Linked DNA regions of Homo sapiens: regions 2 and 3 are each linked to region 1. The links are contacts of gene promoters, found by promoter capture Hi-C in blood cells and fetal thymus (Javierre and others, 2016). All regions are on one chromosome and are shown on one strand. The core of a region is centred on a gene start or on the middle of the fragment in contact, and the rest is flanking DNA. Distances in the headings are between cores, read along the strand shown. Region 1 holds the start of PAX5 (paired box 5). Region 2 overlaps ZBTB5 (zinc finger and BTB domain containing 5). Region 3 overlaps ZCCHC7 (zinc finger CCHC-type containing 7).

Evidence for each region. The method cuts DNA at HindIII sites, captures the fragments that hold promoters and counts their contacts. A CHiCAGO score of 5 or more calls a contact.
Region 2: a contact is called between a fragment that was not itself captured here and the fragment with the promoter of PAX5 in region 1, in 1 of 17 cell types (total B cells). The highest score is 5.7, in total B cells.
Region 3: a contact is called between a fragment that was not itself captured here and the fragment with the promoter of PAX5 in region 1, in 5 of 17 cell types (total B cells, naive B cells, activated CD4 T cells and 2 more). The highest score is 18.1, in total B cells.

What each region holds. Positions count from the first base shown.
Region 1 is chr9:37,032,552-37,036,149 of GRCh38, reverse strand. It overlaps PAX5 (paired box 5), which reads left to right and starts at 1,882. Exons shown (of 10, transcript NM_016734.3): 1 at 1,882-2,164. The coding sequence starts at 2,119. RefSeq lists silencers at 310-469, 1,550-1,729, 1,996-2,116, an enhancer at 1,170-1,219 and a promoter at 1,298-1,736. The HindIII fragment of the contact is 10,408 bases long and covers 1-3,598 here.
Region 2 is chr9:37,444,987-37,448,584 of GRCh38, reverse strand. The region is part of intron 1 of ZBTB5 (zinc finger and BTB domain containing 5); the gene reads left to right. Among named protein-coding and RNA genes, the nearest start is that of ZBTB5, 19 kb to the left of the region's middle. The HindIII fragment of the contact is 315 bases long and covers 1,626-1,940 here.
Region 3 is chr9:37,344,746-37,348,343 of GRCh38, reverse strand. All of the region lies in intron 6 of ZCCHC7 (zinc finger CCHC-type containing 7), which reads right to left. Among named protein-coding and RNA genes, the nearest start is that of LINC01627, 48 kb to the left of the region's middle. The HindIII fragment of the contact is 8,473 bases long and covers 1-3,598 here.

The DNA.
Region 1 (3,598 bases), core at 633-3,132:
AACGACACACAAAAAGACAGCCTACAAGGACAAAGTACAAAATTACACAAAATCAAAACTCACCCCAAAGACCAGGACTTACAGAGCAAAACCCGCTAAAATCAATCCCACGAAAAAACAACACGCAAAACACCCGAAACAAAAGAATATCCCATGGAAAAATGAAAACTCACAGAAAACAAACAAAAACAAAACAAGCCCTCTAAATGGAAACAACAACAACAACAAAACACCAACACCCCCCGCCCCCAGCCCGGGGTGAAATGTCAATTCCGGGAGGGCTTTTGATCTCCAGGCGCGGACAGGCCGCTCCTCCCAGGCGCTGCCTCCCGGCGCGGGCGAGGCGGGAGGGCGGGAAGCCTGGGCTGGGGCTGGGCTGCGGAGGGAAAGAGTCGAGCACTCGGAGATGGCCAAAAATCAAATCTCGGGGTAGGGACACGGGCCCGCAGGCTGCAGGGAGGAGGCGGCGCTGGGGAACTGCGCAGACCACTTGGTGGGGGGGCCGCCCGGGAATCCACAGCCACATTTCCGATTGTGGCGAAATCTGCTCAGTGGATATGTGATGTCCAGTTGCCGCCGGGGGCCCCCCTTTCCTCGAGCTCTAGGCTCTTCCCCCTAGGTTGCGACCCAGCCTCGTGACCACCCCCTCCAAAAAACAAACAACACTCTTGCTGAGGACGATTCACTCTCCAAAACTGCCATTGTCCGGCGGGCCAGGAGTCCTCCTACGGAGCGCTCCCCCGCCCTGGAGAACCTTTCCCCTGCGACCACCCCGCTGCAGGGCCCCACAGGCTTTCAGTGGCTAGGCCCAGCAGCTGAACTAACTCAAGGCTGGGGAGGGGAACAGGGAGGGGAGGCTTGAGTCTGGCCCGAAGAGAGAGGGCTGGACATGCCACACCTCTGCTCGGTCTCTGTGGATCTGATTTCCTCTCTGGAATCAAGTCCTGGGGCTCTGGGACTCCACAACGTCTCAGGGCTCGAGGGCAATGCGATTCCACTTATGGGCCGGGGTAAGGTGTCTGGAACTCCCGCCAATCTCCAGAAACTACTGAGATGTTCTGCTCTGCCCGGGTGCTCCAAAGCGGAAGCCCGGATTTCATCTCCAGTATTTCACAGCTTAACCTCCATGCTCTGGGCCAGAATGGAACTTGATGTGGGGAGGGGTTCTGGGACTAGAAGACTGGATGGGACCTGGGGGCTTTAGGGATCTGGCGCTGCCCTAGGGTCAGGGGCCCAGCAATAGTCAGGACCCCAACAAATTGGGGTGGGGGTTGGATGGCTGGGAACCCTGGGGTCGGGCGCCGCCCTAGGGGTGAATCGGAGTAAACCGGAACGTCGCCTCGGTGCCTGGCAACACTGCCAGCCTTTGCAACCCCTTTCAAAAGCACCTGCTTGGCCGAGCAGTTAATTTCTTCAAAAACAAAAACCCGGCCTGCGCTCGTCTAAGCAGCGGGGTTTGCACATGGAGATGTCACAGGCCCCGCGCACAGCGCAGAGGGCCGCGACCCCCAAGCGCATGTCTTAATAGAAGGTGCGGCTGGAAGACCCGGGCTCCCGGGCTCCGCTTCGGTCTGCCCCTTCCCGTAGGTGCGCTGGCTAGCGCCCGGCGCAGGCTGAAGCCTTCCTTCCCTCCCCCCAACCCCTATAAAAGTCTGGGGCGGCGCGGCAGCAGCACTGCTGCTCTCCCGGCTTCCCGCTCTACTCCGGCCGGGCCGGGTCCGCCACGTCTGGCGCGCTGAGCAGGCCCGGCCGCGCAGCGCCTACCCTTTCCTCGCTCCGGGCCGGCAGTGTGGGGCGGCGCGCTGGGGGCGCGGCGTGTCTGGGGACATCTTGTGATGTTGGCGAGAACAGGACATGATCTCACATGGCGAGAAGCTCTTTAGTTCCTTAATCATTTCACGGTGCCTTCGGACGCTTTTTTTCCACCTAAAACGTTTAGTTTCAGCTCAGTGATCAGCTACCCCAGCTCGGCGGGGGAGCGGAAGGCTTGAATTATTCCGACCTGTGAGCGGCCCCTGGCACCAAAAAAAAAAAAAAAAAAAAAAAAAAAAGAAAAAAAAAGGCACAAAAAAGTGGAAACTTTTCCCTGTCCATTCCATCAAGTCCTGAAAAATCAAAATGGATTTAGAGAAAAATTATCCGACTCCTCGGACCAGCAGGACAGGTAGGACCGCGATACGGGCTCCAGATGTGCAAACTCCGGGACACGGCCAGGCCTTGGTCCCCACGCAGGGTGACCCTGGAGGAGGAGGGGGCGCGCCGCATTTTCGTAGAGACTGTCTAACTGCGGCGTGTTTGTTATGTTTTTTCACCTATCTGTTCACACACTTCTGCATCAGTCCAAATATCTGTGAGTTTGTCTGTGTTTTTCTCTGTTTCTGAATGTTCACGCTGGCGTCCTTCCGGGGGTCTGCAAGTTAGGGCCTGTGTGTTTATATAAGGGACTCAGTGTGTTCATTACAGTATATGTATTTTTAAAAGATGTAAAAATATATGAGTTTGTGTCCAAAAGTTGTTTGCCTGTGTGTGTGTGTGTGTGTGTGTGTGTGTATCTTTATACTCGTGGGGTATTCGTGTGTGTTTATAAGTTAGTACTTGTGTATATTCTTTTGGGTATCCAAAATGTGTGTCTACTATGAGTGTTATTTATGTAATTCGGAAATATCTGAGTGTACATCCACTATTTAAAGGGTCTGCATTCACCTGTTATATCCCAAGTGATTTTTGGATGTGAGAAAGAAGTGGCTACACTGACCTTTCCATTTTTGGATGTCAACGGCTGTCCGATGCATACACGCCAATGTTCACATTGTGTCTCTAGGCAAACTCCTAGACGTGGGTCTGGGGCCTATGGAGATCCGTGGTGTTTAGCATGTGCATTGTAAGGCCCAGTGTCCATTCTATTGGGAGATAGGACCAGGAATGAAGGTGTGAATTCAGGGCATGCAGCCTCTTGGTGTGCAGTGAGCACTGTTCAGGCTACCATTTGTACAAACAGGTCTCCTGTGGCAGGCACAACCTTGCAGATGACAGCGGACACCTGTAGGGTTAGTTGTGACATTTCTAGGGACCCCCAGCCTACATTCACTTTCACCTAGACAAGCCTCTGACACTGGCGTGTGTATTTGTGTGTACACACAGACACACACACACTGTGTCCTCAGGTTTTATCCTGTGGGTGCCGCACCAGTGGAGGAGAGCACAGTGGGTGGATGCATGTGCATAGTCTGGGCATTCAGCTCTAGGGCCTGTATGCGCACAGGCCTCCCTGGCTTAGGTCCCCATGTGCCTCCCACAGGCCTGAGAAGTAGGTAGCAGGATGTGTTTATGTCTGAGAGGAGATAGCAGGGACAGTAGGCCTCCATCTGCCCTGAGGCATGAATCAGGTATGGGGGGCCTCTTTCACTCACTAGGCCACTGTGTAACTCCCACACAAACACTCTCTTGGCCCTGGCAAGAAGCCCCCTTCCCCCATCTCTGTGCCCTCTGAGAACCCCCATCTCTCCTCCAGCCTCAAATACAAGCCTAAGAGCAAAAAGGATAAACTTAGACCCCAAGCCCAGGACAACTTCTGGGGCATAACTGTGTTTCCAAAATT
Region 2 (3,598 bases), core at 534-3,033, 410 kb before region 1:
GCCTTCTGTTGTTTGGTTCTTTCTTTCATTTCCAGGAAGATCACCTCTTACTCAGTAAAACTATGCATTTCCAAAGTCACATGGATTAATATGTAGAGGGGCCCTATTTGTCAGAGGGATGCTAGGTGGACATCTGTCATTTGCAGCTCCCCAGAATCTTCTGAGCACCCCTTCCCCCCTTCACATTTGGATAGTCTGCAAATTGTGATTCCCACTTTCCCAAGGTGGAATCATAGTTATGATGCAGACATTAGCCTCTGTATTGCCTGAAGATGGTCTGCCAACAAGGTATAACAGGAAGTTCCAAGCATCCCTAAAGTGTTTTGAGAGGAATGTGGAGAACTTGAGTTGGTCTCAAGGCCTGTGATGGGGGATCTAGTGTAGAGCTGAGGATCTCTAGGCTGATGGGAAGTTAAAAGATTGTAGGTACTGTTTGCCTGTCTTCCAGTATTACTTAAACCTTTTATCTTTGTTGGGGTTGTGTTTAGCTACCTCAGTAGCCTCTTTTCAAAGATCCCCTGGCTCTTGGAAAATTTCCTCAAAATGGTGTTTCTGGGACCACAATTTAAAAAAATTGTTTATTTATTTATTTTAGAGATGAGGGCTTGCCATATTGCCTAGGCTGTTCTCCAACTCCTAGGCTCAGGTAATCTTCCCATCTTGGCCTTCCAAAGTACTGGGAATTACAGATATGAGCCACCATGCCCAGCCCCGTAATTTTTAAGTAAGCCATTTTTCTCATATAAGTTCTTTTGCTTATCTAAAAAAAAAAAAAAAGAAGCATTGAGCAGAATATTAGTGCCCTTTTAAATCAGTATGCCTAGTTGAAATACTATTTATTTGTGAAGTCAGTCTTTTATGGCCCCCCTCACCTATTAACTCAGGAAAATAATTCCCACCTGCCACTGTTGTTTTGAAGATTAGAAATAATGTAAATTAAAAGTACTTAGCATAATGACTGTCAGGCTCTCAGTAATTACTGTTATTATACCTGTAATCCCAGGCTGGCAGGAGGATTGCTTGAAGCCAGGAGTTCAAAGCTGCAGTGAGCTATGATCATGCCACTGTACTCTAGCCTGGGCAACAGGGTGAAACCCTGTCTCAAAAAAAAAGCACAGTAAAAAATATATATTTTATTACCACTACCATTACCTCTGTTACTGTCACCAGTGAGACTGTTACTACAATGCTGGGTGATATGGCTTGGCTCTGTCCCAACCCAAATCTCATCTCAAATTGAATCCCCACATGAAGGGAAGGAGGTGATTGGATCCTGGGGGTGGTTTCCCCCATGCTGTTCTCCTGATAGTGAGTTCTCACAACATCTGGTGGTTTTATAAGTGACAGTTTCTCCTTCACACACTCACACTCTTCTGCCACCATGTGAAGAAGGTCCTTGCTTTCCCTTTGCCTTCCACCATGATTGTAAGTTTCCTGAGGCCACCTTAGCCATGCAGAACTGTGAGTCAATTAAACCTCTTTCCTTTATAAATCACCCAGTCTTGGGTATTTCTTTATAGCAGTTGAAAACAGACTAATACACTGGGTCTATTCCCCACTGTAGGAGAGAAAGCAGTAACGCTGAGTGTCTAGTGTTCCTTGTTTTTGCCTGTTGAGCCCAAGCTTCCATGGTCGCTTAGAAGAGCAACTCTGAGTCTTGTACAACTTCCCACCACAATTCCCTGTTTATTTTATTCCTCAAACCAGAATGTTTCTTCCCTGTTACTGCTACAAAATAATTACCCCTCTGGAACTTGGCACTTATTCATATATGAGTGTACTTTCTAAGGCAGGGCTATAGACTTAATGAGCAGTAATTGCATTTTGTTTAATCTCCCCAAAGCCTTAAGCTCTGTGGGCCCTGAGTGAGTCGGGTGGGGACCCGGGATGTGTGTGCTGCTGCCTGCCACTGCTGGCTCTCTGCTTTCTGCCGGAAAGCTTGGTAAAGCAAGAAGGGATGTGGCAGTGGCTGCATCTTTGGAGATCTGATCTCTCATACATGATAGCAAAGAACAGACACCTCAGTGGGAAAGTATGTGTGATCTATTTTGTTGTTGAAAGTTCATCAAAGCTCAACAAACATAGGCAAAACAATATGGCCAACATGTGTCTGCTGCTTTGAGGCATTTGCTTTTCCGATAGTTAACTTTCCAAGTATAGCTGAATAGCATAATAGTCTCAGTCGCCACAGTAGACCCTTGAATTTTGTGGACTTAGTTTGCCATTTCAGTTATTTCCCAGGATCCTGACCAACTTTGGCCTGTAAGGCTGTATGGCTGGGACATCAGAGCAAGTGGTTGGGCCTGGGGAGCCACTTGGCACCCATGCTGCCTTCTTATGAAATGCCATGATGGTATTTGTGAATTTTGGAGATTTGCAAAGATCTCAGGTATATCCCTTTAGAATATCATAGATCTACCTTTTTTAAATTTAATTTTATAAATATATGTGTATACATTTTTATGTATTTATTTATTTGAGACAGAGACTTGCTCTGTCGCCCAGGTTGCAGTGCAGTGCAGCGATCTTTGCTCTCTATAACCTCTGCCCCCTGGGCTGAAGCAGTCTTCCCACCTTAGCCTCCCAAGTACACTGGGACTACATGGCAGGCACTCGCCACCATGGCCGGCTACTTTTTGCATTTTTAGTTGAGATGGGGTTTTGCCATGTTGCCTAAGGTGGTCTCGAACTCCTGAGCTCAAACAATCTGCCCGCCTCAGTCTCCCAAAGGGTTAGGATTACAGCCATGAGCTACCACACCCAGCCTATAGTTCCATAAGGCTTATAGGTAAAAAGAAACAAAAACAACAACAAAACAGCAGTCCCCTGTCCCATCCTTTTCCCCATCAATTACCCACTCCTCAGAGGCAACCACTTTCAATTATTTCAGCTGTTTCTTCCACTATTGACTTCCATATTTCTTTTTTCTTTTTTTTTTTTTGACAGGGTCTCACTCTGTCTCCCAGATTAGAGTGCAGTGACGTGATCTCTGCTCACTGCAAGTTCTGACTCCGGGCTCAAGTGATCCCCCTCAGCCTCCCAAGTAGCTGGGACTGCAGGCACATACCACCATGCCTGGCTAATTGTTTTTGTATTTTTAGTAAGAGATGGGGTTTTGCCCCATGTTGCCCAGGCTGGTCTTGAACTCCTGGGGGCTCAAGGGACCCACCTACCTCGGTCTCCCAAAGCGCTGGGATTACAGGCGTGAACCACCAAGTTGGTTAACTTCTATACTTCTAAATAACATGCCAAATTACTATTTTTTGAGATAACCTATTTCAGACTGTATTTCTAGATTAATAAGGAAAGTGAAGATTTAACTTTATTATACCTCATCTCCTCTACCCTCTTCCCCCATGCAAAGTTGCTTTCTCTCATCCTCCCAATATCTCACATTCGGTTTAGTGTACATATTTTATGACTGTGTAAATATTGTCTACGAATGAACTACATATTGTGTCCTGTGAGTAAACAACCTTTTTTTTTTTTCCTGGAGTTAATCATTGATCCATTTAAAAACTTCTTGTTTTTTTTAATGACCTATCTGCACACTTGGATAGGACTGGTAAATTACAAGCACTCCCAGTCACATCAGGTT
Region 3 (3,598 bases), core at 664-3,163, 310 kb before region 1:
CTGGTATCACTTGGTCATTGAAAAGACGTGGGGAATGAGGGAAAGGAAAAATCAGGATGCCTCCAGATTTTGAACATGGGTGAACAAGGATTGATTCAGAAAAAGTAGAAAAAGAAAGAGGAGCAAGTTTAGAGGCAAAGTTGATGAAGACTGTCTTGGATATGGAGTATCTAGGTAAGGATCTCCAGGAGGCAGTTTCTATGTAGAGACAGAAGAGTCTGAGCTGAAGAGTAGATCTGAAAGTAATCAGCATAAGAGTGAAGGCTGAAATCACTAGAGTGGACAGGATCACCATGGACAGTGTAAGAGTGGCTGTGGGCTGAGGAAGGAACCCTGAAGACATCAATGTTTAAGGGGTGGGCAGAGGAGCCTGTGAAATGGACATAGAAGGGAAGGTTAAAGGATGCAGAGACATAGGAGAATACAGTAACAGACTTTAGAGTTGTTTCAAGAAGGATGAACTGATCTACAATGTTAAATATAGCAGAGAGGCCTAGTGAGATTAGGACTGAGAAACATCCACTTGAAGTGGCAACTGCTCACAGATAACCTTACTGTGAAAATTCTGAGATATTCTAGAAAGAGTACAAGGCAGCAGGATGAACAGTAAAGTAATGCATACAAAGGTGGTAAAACTACAAAAAGAGCAAAGAAATCATTACTCATAAAAGCCAGGATCTGTGAACTTAACCCGGATTTTTTTTTTCTTTAAAGCCAGGTTACTTCCAGTGAGGAGAAACAGCACACAGGATATTGGCATAGCTGAAATTTTCTGTTACTTCAACATGGCGATAGTTAACTTGTGTGTGTATTACATAACTAATTTATTCTTTTGCACATGTATTTTACATACTTTTCAGTATGTATATTAGGTTGGTGCAAAGGTAACTGTAATTGCAGTTTCTGCCATTTAATAGCAAGAACCTCAATTACCTTTGCACTAACCTATTATTTCAGAACAAAAAATGTTTTAAAAAATTGAATGGAAGTTGTAGGAGAGAGAAGTTATATATTGAGAAGCATGAAGCGGCAGAATAAGATGAAGCAGTACCCAGGAAGGGGATTTGGTGGAATCTGTTTATAGAATGGGAAAGACTTGAACATCTGGGAAAGATAATGGAGATGGAGAAGTTGAAACCAGAGGAGGAAAGGAGATGATGGACACAGACCTCTGAGGAGGTGGTGGCTGTAAACAGGGGGAGAAAAACCTAACCCCTGCACACCCCCACGCTTTGTGGAGACTGGAAGAAAAGTTAAGGATCGGCTTAAACGTGGATCACTTTATTTCTTATGTTGTTTATTGAAAGTCTTTAACAAACAGTGCTAGTCTGCCAACTAATTTTTTTTTTGGACAGGGTCTTCCCCTGTTGCCCAAGGTGGAGTACAGAGGCACAATCATGGCTCACTGCAGCCTCGACCTCCCAGGCTCAGGCGATCCTCCCAGTTCAGCCTCCCAGGTAGCTGAGACCACAGGAGTGCACCACTACGCCTGGCTACTTTAATTTTTATATTATTGTTTTTTAAATTTTTGGTAGAGACAGGGACTCACTATGTTGCCCAGACTGGTCTGGAACTCCTGGGGTCAAGTGATCCTTTCACCTTGGCCTCCTAAAGTGCTGAGACTGCAGGCATGAGCCACCATGGCCAGCCCTAATTTTGTTTTTTCTTTGAGACAGCGTCTCGCTTTGTCGCTCAGGCTGGAGTGCAGCAGCACAATCTCAGCTCACCACAACACCACCTCCTGGGCTCAAGCAATCCTTGGGTTTCAGCCTCCTGAGTAGCTGGGACCATAGGTGCTTGCCACCATGCCCAGCTATTTTTTCTATTTTTAGTAGAGATGGGGTTTTGCCATGTTGCCTAGGCTGGTCTCAAACTCCTGGGCTCAGGTGAATTGCTTGCCTTCGCCTCCCAAAGTACTGAGATTACAGCCAACGTGCCCAGGCCCCCTAATTTTGTTTTTAATGTTGCAAACAGGTGTTTTGTAAAGGTCTTATTTCCTTGATATAGGAAAATAATAAATAGGTTATAAAAATCTTCTTCAGGTCAGGCACAGTGGCTCATGCCTATAATCCCTGTACTTTGGGAGGCCAAGGTGGGTGGATCACCTGACGTCAGGAGTTTGAGACCATCCTGACCAACATAGAGAAGCCTCATTTCTACTAAAAATACAAAAATTAGCTAGGCGTGGTGGTGCATGCCTGTAATCCCAGCTACTCAGGAGGCTGAGGCAGGAGAATCACTTGAACCTGGGAGGCGGAGGTTGCAGTGAGCAGAGATCGTGCCATTGCACTCTAGCCTGGGCAACAAGAGCGAAACTCTGTCGCAAAAAACAAAACCCAAACGCAAACCCAAACCAAACCAAACCAAACCAAACCAAAACAAAAAAAACTACTTCAAACAACTTTACTTTCAGCTCTTATTCCCTAAAATGAAAAACTGTAGCAAAACAATAACCTCAATAATCTTTCCTACTGAAAGCTACACAAAATGGAATTTACAACCTCAGGTATTATCAATTGAGATATAATAAAAATAACAACCGTTTTATATTCTGCAATTAAAAATGGGGTTCATAAATTAAGACTAGCTAAAAGTCATTAAACAAGAGTTTTTTTTTTTTTTTTGAGATGGAGTCTTGCTCTGTCACTCAGGCTGCAGCACAGTGGCACGATCTCGGCTCACTGCAACCTCGGCCTCCTGGGTTCAAGTTGTCCTCCTGCCTCAGCCTTCAGAGTAGCTGGGATTACAGGCACATGCCAGCACGCCTGGCTAATTTTTGTATTTTTAGTAGAGATGAGGTTTTGCCATGTTGGTCAGGTTGATCCTGACTTCAAGTGATCCGCCTGCCTCAGCCTCCCCAAATGCTGGGATTACAGGCATGAGCCACCACACCCAGCCTAAACAGAGTTTTAACAGGTACGCATGTAAGCCATGTATCCCTTATTGCAGTGGTTCACAAATTTCTTCAGATAGAACACTGTGAAGACATGAAATTATTAAGCAGAAATGATTTTCCACCCACAAAGACAGCTATATTATTTGACGTGACATCAAATTGCAGCCACAAGCATACATGGCTTAAGAGAAATAAAAACAAAAGAGATGATGTCATAGATATGAAGGCAGAATGGATGTTTCAAGGAAGAAACTGTTAAAAGCTACTGATGGGTTATATAAGATGAAGACTATGAAATCCACTGGACTTAGCAAATAGGAAGTTGTTGGCAAGTGGAGAAACTATTGTGAGTAGTTTCTTTCGAGGGGTAGAGGTACAAGCCAGATTGTAATGGATTTATTATAAGTAGAAAGCTGCTGAAGAACAGAACATAGGTCACTTTTCCTAGAAACTAGGCTGTGTATGCAAGAAGGGAAGGGGACAAGTAGAGCAGAATACAAGTCGAAGGATGCCTCCATCAGGGAGATTTACCAGAGTGCTGGGCCCATGGCATGAGTGTATGCATGCATTCCTTCATTAATTTGTTCAAAAAATAATTATTGAGGGCCTAATACATGCCAGATATTGTTCTAAGATCAGGTAACTGAGAAGTGAGCAAGATAAAAGTCATTGCTCACATCTCCAGTGGTGGAAGATAAATAG